Regions from separate parts of the Homo sapiens genome. Here all the other regions are linked to region 4. Evidence: promoter capture Hi-C in 16 types of primary human blood cells and fetal thymus (Javierre and others, 2016). All regions are on one chromosome and are shown on one strand. Each heading gives the region's core, a stretch centred on a gene start or on the middle of the fragment in contact. The rest is flanking DNA. Distances are from core to core; before and after follow the strand shown. Region 1 has its middle 8.4 kb from the start of CLEC1B. Region 2 overlaps LOC102724020 (a long non-coding RNA gene). Region 3 has its middle 2.4 kb from the start of CLEC12B. Region 4 holds the start of CLECL1 (C-type lectin like 1).

The links. The method cuts DNA at HindIII sites, captures the fragments that hold promoters and counts their contacts. A CHiCAGO score of 5 or more calls a contact.
Region 1: a fragment that was not itself captured here is called in contact with the fragment with the promoter of CLECL1 in region 4 in 1 of 17 cell types (monocytes); the score reaches 5.0 in monocytes.
Region 2: a contact is called between a fragment that was not itself captured here and the fragment with the promoter of CLECL1 in region 4, in 3 of 17 cell types (megakaryocytes, M2 macrophages and M0 macrophages). The highest score is 6.7, in megakaryocytes.
Region 3: a fragment that was not itself captured here is called in contact with the fragment with the promoter of CLECL1 in region 4 in 2 of 17 cell types (M1 macrophages and M2 macrophages); the score reaches 5.7 in M1 macrophages.

Annotation. Positions count from the first base shown.
Region 1 is chr12:9,989,356-9,992,055 of GRCh38, forward strand. It overlaps a transcript of CLEC12A not described here. Among named protein-coding and RNA genes, the nearest start is that of CLEC1B, 8.4 kb to the right of the region's middle. The HindIII fragment of the contact is 1,888 bases long and covers 453-2,340 here.
Region 2 is chr12:10,023,927-10,026,626 of GRCh38, forward strand. The region is part of intron 2 of LOC102724020 (a long non-coding RNA gene); the gene reads right to left. Among named protein-coding and RNA genes, the nearest start is that of CLEC9A, 5.4 kb to the right of the region's middle. The HindIII fragment of the contact is 1,228 bases long and covers 767-1,994 here.
Region 3 is chr12:10,006,822-10,009,559 of GRCh38, forward strand. It overlaps a transcript of CLEC12B not described here. Among named protein-coding and RNA genes, the nearest start is that of CLEC12B, 2.4 kb to the right of the region's middle. The HindIII fragment of the contact is 1,472 bases long and covers 528-1,999 here.
Region 4 is chr12:9,731,604-9,734,348 of GRCh38, forward strand. CLECL1 (C-type lectin like 1) reads right to left here and starts at 1,494. Exons shown (of 2, transcript NM_001441815.1): 1 at 1,346-1,494. The coding sequence starts at 1,427. The HindIII fragment of the contact is 6,540 bases long and covers 1-2,745 here.

The DNA.
Region 1 (2,700 bases), core at 147-2,646, 260 kb after region 4:
AGTATAATAATAAAAAAAAAGAAATTACAAGTGCTGCTCCAATGAACACACAAATAGTAAGAAAACAAGATAGCCTTATTGCTGATATGGAGAAAGTTTGGTGGTCTGGATACAAGACGAAACCAATCACAACGTTCTCTTAAGTCAAAGCCTAATCCAGAGCAAGGCCCTAACTCTTGTCAATTCTGTGATGGGTGAGAGAGGTGAAGAAGCTACAGAAGAAATGTTGGAAGCTAGCAGAGGTTGGTTCATCAGGTTTAAGGAAAGAAGCCTTCTCTCTAACATAAAAATGAAAGATGAAGCAGCAAGTTGTGATGTAGAAACTGGAGCAAGTTATCCAGAAGATATAGCTAAGATAGCTGAAGGTGTCTAGATGAAACAGCTTTGTATTGGAAAGACATGTCATCTAGGATTTTTATACCTAGAGAGGAAAAGTCAATGGCTGGCTTGAAAGCTTCAAAGGACAAGCTGACTCTCTTGTTAGGGACTAATGCAGCTGATGACTTTAAGTTAAAGCCAGTAGTCTTTTATCATTTCAAACGTCCTAGGGACCTTAATAATTATGCTAAATGTACCTGCCAATGCTCTATGAATGAAACAATGACGTCTAGATGAAAGCACATTTGTTTATAGCATTGTTTACTGAGTATTTTAAGCCCATTGTTGAGAAACACTGCTCAGAAAAAAAAAAGGTCTTTTTTTCAAAATATTACAGCTCATTGACAATGCACCTAGTCACCCAAGAGCTCTTATAGACATGTACCGGGAGGTTAATGTTTTCAGTCCTGCTAACACAGCATCCTTTTCTGCAACCAACAAATCAAGGAGTAATTTTGACTTTCAAGTTTTATTCTTTAAGAAATACACATCATAAGGCTATAACTCCCACAGATACTGATTCTTCTTATATATCAGAGCAAAGTAAATTGAAAACCACCTGGAGACAACTTACCATTCTAGATGCCATTAAAAAGATTTGTGATTCATGGAAGGAAGACAAAGTGTCAACATTAACAGACACTTGGAAGAAGTTGAATCAAACCCTCATGGATAACTTGCAGGCGTTCAAGACTTCAGTGGTGGAAGTAACTGCAGATGTGGTGGAAATAGCAAGAGAACTAGAACTGGAAGTGGAGCCTGAAGATGTGGCTGAATTGATGCAATTTTATCAGGAAACTTTAACAAATGAGGAGTTGCTTTTTATGGATGAGCAAAGAAAATGGTTCTTGAGACAAATATTATTCCTGGTGAACATGCTGTGAACATTGTTGAAATGCTAATAAAGTATTCTGAATATTGCATAAACTTAGTTGATAAAGCAGTAGCAGGATTTGAGAGGACTGACTTCAATTTTGAAAGAAGTTTACGATGAGTAAAATGCTATTTAACAGCATCGCATTCTACAGATAAAAATTTCATAAAAGGAAGACTAAATTGATGCTACAAACTTCACCATTGTCTTATTTTAAAAATAGCCACATCTACCCCATCCTTCAGCAACCACTGCTGTGATCCATCAGCAGCCATCAACATCAAGGCAAGACGCTACACCAGCAAAAAGATTTTCACTCACTAAAGACTCAAATAATCAGCATTTTTAGCAATAAACTATTTTTAATAAAACTATGTACATTTTCCAGACATAATGCTGTTGTATACTTAATAGAAGACGTTGTAGCTCAAACATAACTTTTACACGAATTGGGAAAGCAAATAATTAATGTGACTCACTTTATTGCAATAATTGCTTTATTGTGGTGGTCTGGAACTGAACCCACAATATTTCCGAGGCATGCCTGTAAGTTAGTTTTAAATTGAAGAAGACAGAAGTCAAATTTTGCTGGAGTTCACTTAGATGACATGTAGAAGATTTAGTATTTGAAATGAGGTGGTCTGATCTGTGCTACTAACGTTTGTGCTATTTTGATTTTATGTATAAGATACTTTAGATATGAATACCAGAAAAAGAATCACAGTGATTGGCCTACATTTTTAATTGTATTGTTGCCATGCACTAAGATATTATTCTTCTAAGTTTATGTGTGCTATAGGGATGTATACACATATGTTTTTCCATTTTAGGGAGATGAAACAAAGTTGAGTTGCTAATTTTGTACAGTTTTCTGAATTATTGGTTCCTATTTAGTTTCTCTAAATAGACAATTCAAAATAAAAAACATACTGATACCATCACCCAAATCCAAGATCTCCAGACATTTGAAGTAACAAGTAAAATTTGAGGTATTTCTATTATTTTTCCTAAGCCCTCCAAATCTGCTTAATTATTGATAGGCTAGAAAAAAGATAAAGATTCAAGTGTCTTTCAGTGTTAGCGCACAAAGCTTTAAGAGTAACACATATTTATTGAGTATGTATTACATACTTGGTATTCTGATCGATACTTTATATAATCATATTAAATGAGCTTCACAATTAACTTATGAGCAAGGTAATAATATTAAACCCATTTCAAGGTGAGAACATTACTTATCCAAAGCCAGATAGAGAGTAAGTTCTAAAGTAGTGATATTTCTCTAACTGTATTAAAGACTACTTGTATGAGAATTGTGTCGTGATGCTGGTAAAAACCCAGGTCTCTGTGTCTCCTCAGTCTTCCCACTGAGTAACATCAGCATTTGAGTTTCCTATTTGGTTTCTCTATGTTTTAACCAAAACCTCCGTTGAGATGTTTGAGAATCA
Region 2 (2,700 bases), core at 131-2,630, 290 kb after region 4:
ACCCTTTCACCTTTTTGATTCCTTAGCATAGCACTGGAAATTGTAGGGAAACACTAATTGTTACTGTTATAGTTACCAAGGCCATTATTTTCAGTTCTCCAGCTTTCTTTGTTTCTAGACAGAATTTGTTTCTGAGAAAAATTACTCTCTATGGGTGAATTGATGTTGGCTTCACCAATCTTGTCCAGCCCATATGATCTGTAAGTTGTATTTTGAGTAGAGTAATTTCTAGGGGGCTCCATTCTCTCTTGTTCTTCAAGTACTGACCTTCAATTTCCAGTGCAAGAAGACAGTATTTGATTGTTTCTGTCTTTATTTTGAAGCTCTTTTGTGTCTAAATAGGACAAGTTGGGAAGGAATACCTCTCAAAACTTACAGAGCCAAAAAATGCATCAAGGAGGGTGGGAAATGAGTCCCAGGAAGGTGAATTGGACTGAAAACCAGATTTCTGGTCTCTCTTTATCTGGGTCTACCAAATGCACAACTGATATTTCGACAGGTGCGACTGGCAGCTGCAAATTATTCACTTATTTAACAATAGATTTTGTGTGTGTGTCAACCAAGTGCTAGTCGATATGCAAACCCTTGGGATAGATATGAAGATCAGCATGACAGGACCCTTAACCACAATAAGCTCAAAGCTAGGGGCAAAGGGGCCTACAATTTTTAAGATGGCCCTAACATGGCAGGAACTTGACAAATTCAATATGTGATCTCATCTGAGATCATTCCATACATGTGGAAACTAAAGCTTGATTTAGAACAAAGCTTGGCTAAGGTTTTACAGCCGGAAAGGGTGAAGTTAGGTTCTGAACCAGGTCCAATACATGCCAGAGCCCTATTATCTTTTCACAGAATCATAGCTGTGAGACAATGCAATGCAACAGAATATAGATTTATTATATATAATAAATAATAGATTTCAGCATGCTATCAGAACACAGAAGATGGTATGCAATGACACTTCCCATAAATGGTGACCCCACCCCAGGTGTCATCTTGTTTTAAGTATACATTTTATTACTTTTCCTAATTAAATCCGTCCTCAGCAATTTTCTTGCCTTATGTATTGCTATCTCCCCCCATAGCCCCTGTTGCTGGTCTGATGTTGACTGATTTGAAGCCACTAGGCATGCCATCCCTACTTGCCTGCCTCATTCATAAACATTTCTTCTTTAAAAACCACTTTATTGGGTATAATTGACATGTAAAAGCTGTACATACGTAATATATGCAACTTAATATTTGTAGATAAGTATACACACATGAATAAACCATCACCACAATGTATACCATAAACATAGGCATTATCTTGAAAAGTCCTCCCACCCTCTTTATTGTTAATATTTTTGTGTGATAAAAACACAACGTAAGATTTACACTCTTAGAAAATTCTAAATATACAATATAGTATTGTTGTCTATAGGCACTACGCTGTACAGTAGATCTGTAGGACTTATTCATCTTGTGTAACTGAACTTTCTACCCTTTGGCTAATACCTCCTCATTTCCCTCTCCTGTAACCCCTGGCAACCACCATTCTACTATCTGCTTCTATGAGTTTGGTTATTTGAAGTTCCTCATATAAATGGTATCATGCAGCATTTGTCCTTCTGTATCTGGCTTGTTTCACTTAGCATAACATCCTCCGTATTTATTCATGTTGCTGCAATGGCAGGATTTCTTTCTTTTTTAAGGCTAAATAATATTCCATGGCATGTACCATATGACCTAGCAATCCCATGACTGGGTATATATCCAAAGAAATTGAAATTGCAATTTCAAAGAGATGCCTGAACTCCTATGTTTATTGCAGCACTGTACACAATAGCCAACACACGAAAGCAACCTCAATGTCCATTGACATGTGAATAGAATAAAAATAAAATGTGGCATATTCATTTTATTAATTTAAACTATTTGTTTCTAAGAACTTTATATTTTAGGTTGTTAGTTAGAAATGAACAAAATAAACGCTTTTATTGCTCTATGAAAGCTTGATTCCTCAGATCTAGGCCCCCATTTGTGGTATATTGCACATTTGAATTTATCATAGGAGCAAAAGAAAGTTGTATATGTTGCAGGCTATGTTTACATGACTATGTTACAGAATTAACATTTATCTTTATTTCTTTCCTATATTCCTGTTAGAAGACAATAGGATTATAATTCAGTTGACAGAAATGTAGCTTATGGCAGTCCTTAAGTCTGTGTCTTAACTTTGGGAATTTTGGAGGCTGGTGAAGTATAAGTATAGCTTTTCCTCTGGCTCTTTTGCTAGAAGAGAAAGCAGACTTTAAGAGAAAATTATTGCAGCACTATTTACAATAGCAAAACTTTGGAACCAACCCAAATGTCCACCAATGGTAGACTGGGTAAAGAAAATGTGGCACATATACACCATGGAATACTATGCAGCCATAAAAAAGAATAAGTTCATGTCCTTTGCAGGGACATGGACGAAGCTGGAAACTATCATTCTCAGCAAACTAACACAGGAACTGAAAAGCAAACACTGCATATTCTCACTCATAAGTGGGAGTTGAACAATGAGAATACATGGACACAGGGAGGGGAACATCACACACTGGGGCCTGTTGAGGGGATGAGGGGCAAGGGGAGGGAGAGCATTAGGACAAATACCTAATGCATGCGGGGCTTAAAACCTAGATGACAGGTTGATAGGTGCAGCAAACCACC
Region 3 (2,738 bases), core at 14-2,513, 270 kb after region 4:
GAGGGGGACAGATCACGAGGTCAGGAGATCGAGACCATCCTGGCTAACACGGTGAAACCCCGTCTCTACTAAAAATACAAAAAATTAGCCGGGCGGGGTGGCAGGCGCCTGTAGTCCCAGTTACTCTGGAGGCTGAGGCAGGGGAATGGCATGAACCTGGGAGGCGGAGCTTGCAGTGAGCCGAGATCGCGCCACTGCACTCCAGCCTGGGCAACAGAGCTAGACTCTGTCTCAATAAAAAAAAAGAAAGAATAAAAATAAAAAAAGAAAAAAAAGAAATAGTGAAGGAAAAAGCCTAATTAGAATAGGTTTGGGAAGATCATAGAGAAATTTTTGAACCCATTTGTTGTTAAGAAAATTAGAGAAATGGAGTGATCATGTGTATGGTGTTACGGTGAACAAAAGATGGCTTCTGCTTGTTTTAATATAGGAGATATTATATCATCTTTGGAAGTGAACATAAGTGAACAAGTAGAGATGAAAAAAATGGAAAAATTGATAGAAAGAGAAAAAGAAGGAAAATTACAAGCTTGAAATCTTTAAGGAGATAGGTGGATGGATTTTAATATACAGATGGAGATTGATCTTAGATGAGTAGTACAATTCAACCACTGTTGAAAAGAATACTACCTCATATACTGATGTAGCTGTTTTGGTATATTTGACTAGTGAAACAGAGAAAACTTCTTTCTGAATTTCTTTTTTTTCTTAAGATAATGTTAATGGAAAAGCCAGGTTATCCGTTTAGTTTGTAGAAAGAGAAGACAGAAAGAAATTTGAGAGTCTGAGAAAGAAAAAGAGATTGGGAATAATCTTTTAGGAGATTTGCAGAACAGATTGATTAGTAAGAGTGCTGAGAAGTTACATTTCAAAAACGTAAGATAAAACCAGTTAATATGATCACATTCAGCTACTTGAATGTATGCACAGAGTAGGTAGGGTTGGATTTAAACAAGCTGCATTTTCTAGATGCTTATGATGAATGAAGAGGTAAGCAAGGAAGTTGTAGCTGTGGGTAAGAAAACGATTTTTATAATTGGCCCTGGTAAGTGGTGCATGCTGGGTATAATAGGAAATGAGACATGAGGGATTGACAACAATGAGAAGTTGGCATGGTCAGTGAAGTTGCTATCTCAGTGGGCACTGAAATGCTGTAGAGTGTAGAATACCCAGAGAGAGTGGGCTGGAAACATAGGAGGTGGAGGTCAGAGAGTGAAATATCTGAAACAGATCATGGAAGAATTTCTCATATTGGAAATGAAATTGTCTGCACTCTAGTGCAGTGCTGTTCAATAGCCACGTTGCTAATAATGGAAATGTTATTTACCTGCACTGTCCAATTGCATAGCCAATGCCACCTGTGGCTGTTAAGTACCTGAAGTATGACTAGTGTGACCTAGGAAATAAATTTTAAATTTAATTTAATTTTAATTAATTTAAGTTTAAATAGCAATTATATGCCTAGTGATTACTACGGTGAATAGCCTAGCTCTAAACTAGGATCATCTAGTGGGTGACTGATTTTTGTGTGTGAGCAACTGATTTCTGAGTGTGGGTAAGGTTATTGGAGGCAAATTCAAGAACTGAGAGCCCATAGTATTGGAATTATCACCTACCTGAATGTCGAAATCACATGATAATCATGATAGGAGTAGAGATCAATAAGATTTAAGATAGTTGAAAAAATAATGAAGAAATAAGGAGAATTTGGTAAATGACTGCAACAAAGTGAGTTTTTAAATAGTGTAACTGATAAAATAAGCTACAGAAATGCTGTAAGTTTTTAAGGGAGAAAAGTATATAAAGAAATGTCTAAATTAATATGATCATACACTAATAATGATAGATGATATAGCTTTTTGGATCATAATAATAGAAAGTATGTGAGAAGTGTTATCAATCTTCTCTTAGAAATAATTAGGAATCAGGTGACATTCTTCATCATTGTTCAAGCTAAGCATCATTTCATGGATAGTGAGAAGTTAATACTTTGTTAGGAAGCTTTAAGGTATGTGAAAGAATTAAGGAAATGAGGATGAAAACCCAGTTTTTGCAAAATCTGGTGAAAGTCATGAGACGTGAGGCCAGCCAGACTTCCTGAATCGAGTGGGGACTCAGGGAACTTTCCTGTCTTACAAGAGGATTGTAAAACGCACCAATCAGTGCCACGTAAAACGCACCGATCAGCGCTCTGTAAAACGCACCAATCAGCAGGATTCTAAAAGTAGCCAATTGCGGTGAGGATTGAAAAAAGGTCAGTCTGATACGACAGAAACGGAACATGGAGGGGACAGTAAGGAAATAAAAGCTAGCCACCCCAGCCAGCAGCAGCAACCCGCTTGGGACCCCTTCCATGCTGTGGAAGGTTTGTCATCCTGCTCTTCACAATAAACCTTGCTACCACTCAGTCTTTGGGTCCGTGCCATCTTTAAGAGGTGTAACCCTCACCGCAAAGGTCCGCGGCTTCATTTTTGAAGTCAGCGAGACCAGGAACCCACCGGCAGGAACCAACTCCGGACACGGACCAGAACAGAGATAGAAAACCATTCTTAATTTCTTATTTTTGTAATCATCTATTTAAACTGGTCCTCATGTCAATGGTCTCTGCCTTTTCTGAATTCAACTAGAATAGTAAACATAAGCATAGATTTATTATTTGTTTCAATATTTTTGATAGTGGAGTTTTATTGATATATGACTTAGAGCCTCCAAACATTTTTTTGATTATTTCATCAATT
Region 4 (2,745 bases), core at 244-2,743:
ATCTAACACCACACGTATACAGCACAAGAACAATATGATATTTGACTTCTGGTCATAAGCATGACTATAGGTAGGTAATTTAATCTTCATATAGTTCGTTTTCTCATTTTTAGCATTCTAAGATTGAACTAGATCACATTAAAAGATGTTGCCCCACATCCCTAAACTGGGAAAAGAATAAGGTTTTATTTATAAAAGTTCAAACCATAGACAGAAAGGCAATTAAACCCTGGAATGCGGAATCAAAAATATTGGTTTTGTTGCTTAAACTGAGTAAAATAACCTCTAGAAAAAGAAACTAACTACAGGACATTTTTGAAGCATAGGGGAATGACAGTGCAGTTCTAGTCCATGTTATTTTTCAAATTATGTTTCACTATTTCATAGGAAGTGAAAGTGCCTAAGCTGGAAGAAAAGAAAGCAAGTTAGCCTCTGCTGGGTAAAATAGAGAGGTAAGGTTTAAAATAAGAAACAAGATGCTTTTACAACCAGAAAAGGACACACACTAGATTCCTTTGATAACTATAAACTTTTGAAAATATAAAGAAGAAATACATTCCTTGGAAATACGAACAAAGTAGCAGATTCATTCCACAAGGGCAAATACAAAGGAGGAACTTTAAATTATTTAAAACACCTACATAAACTCTATGCTACAAAAATTCTTACCCTAGAGCAGAGAATGGAAATGTAACAAGACAGAGAAATTTCCTTAATACTTCAAAGAATAGAAAAGACACTGGCTATGAAAATCTATAATTTTTGAGGGGGTTTGGTGATGAAGGCACCATGTTAAGTTTAGGCATATGCTTATCGCCTCTGATTCCAGAAATATTCAATTACCTAGTCATTAATTCTAGACTTTATAAAATTAAATCTAACGTTTCATGTTTTCTTAAGTTTACATTTTTATCCTATTGATATTGTAAAAGAATAAATAACAATATGAGTAAATTGCCACAGGTATTTTTCCCAGTGGAGATGAATTTATCACATTATGTTAAAAGGTCAGATTTGATTGAGAGTGAGCAAAGCTGTGGAGCAGAAAGGCGTGATCCCGCTAGAAGTTGCTGTGTGAATATAAACATTCATCACGAGAAATCAAGAAATAGAAAGGCTATGAAAACAGAAGCAAAGTTCTACATATTAAAACCAAAGTGGCAATTTATTTTATGAACAGACATTTTGCTTCATTAAAAACATTCGCTCTTATTCTTAGCATTCAATGAATTTTGCTTTGAATCCAATCTCCTCTTTTCAGTTTGGCAATTAGATACATAAGAAAGAAATAAAGGAGATAACTAGTAAAATCTTAATTCTCAAAGGCACCCTAAATCCAGCTTACCAGATCTCTGAAGTGGAAACGCGAGTTCTAACGGGGAAGTCCGAACAGTTTTGATGTCAGCGTAGACTACATCTCCAGCCATTGCACAGATCAAAAAGAGAGAGAAGACCACAAATGATGTCCCACTGAAGGGACAATCATATTTCTGCAAAGAAACTTCTGATAAGTAAATTGAGATGGCAAATTTCCTTCTGCTCCCCAAGTGGGTGGTGGACTTCCTCCATGAATAAATGACAAAACCAATGTGTTCAGTCTTACTAATCAAGGTAGCAGATTTCTCGAATACTTGTATGACATGGAAGAAATTACTAACCATACAGTAGGTTCTCGTTTTTCAGTTAGTTTTCTGCCTAAACTTGAAATGCTTTTAACTTTTATTAATACCACAGAAGATATCTCACCATTTTCTCCTATAGACCACTTCCTCTTTTAGTTCAGGCATATATTCTCTGGCGGAAACTCTGAATTTCCAGCATCTTCTCCAAAGTAGGATAGCTATTTGGGAAACAGAACAAGAAAAAGAAGGGATTTTATTACGAAAGTTACAGAAAGGGGCCCTATGTCTTTTATCCTCCTCTCTAAATGCATTGTATTGTCTAGATAATACCTTAAAAATTCTGAAAGCTATTTGCTTTCCTGTATGCTTTATAATATTAACATTAAACTGAGGTAAAACATGAATTATGCAGAGGACTTCTGAACTAAAAAATATATATTTAAGAAACAGAAATAACTCTGTTAAAATAATTCAAGGTAATGACATAAAAGAAAAAAATCTAATTTTAAAATGAGGTGTTCAGAAATTTACTATCGAATACAACATAGCAAACATAGATTTTATCTCCTATTTCTTCTAAAATTCCACTAAAATTGAATTAAGTGAATAAAAATTTGTTAGTCTAAAACAATAACACAAAGGCTCAGGGTCCTATTAGTTGATGAAAAATTTCAACTAATTCCTGGAAAATGGAGAGTAGATGGAGATGTGATCATTGATGAAGAAGTAAAATCAGAGAAAAATGCAGCCAACACCATACAGAGGGAAATAATGGAGGAGAGCCTAGCTACCTGTGAAACCGTCATAGGACATAGAAATGTCAGATATGAAAAATGGCAGGATCCATTAGCTTATGACTAGTAGATTAACTGGAAATCTGCATATGGAAAAACTGGTTTTTTCAATACCCACTCAAGTGCATTCTGCAGAATTAATCTAAACTGCAGTCACCCCATCCCTACCCCTCATCCAAGAAATTTAACTTAGGTTAATTAAATAACTAGAGAACAGATCCTGGCTTTGTGGCATTTAGGGATCCCTCCTATAAAGACCAACTTCTGACCCTGGATGAGGCTTGAGCACCGACCTCTGTCTCTTAAGACTGCATGACACTCTCTCCCTT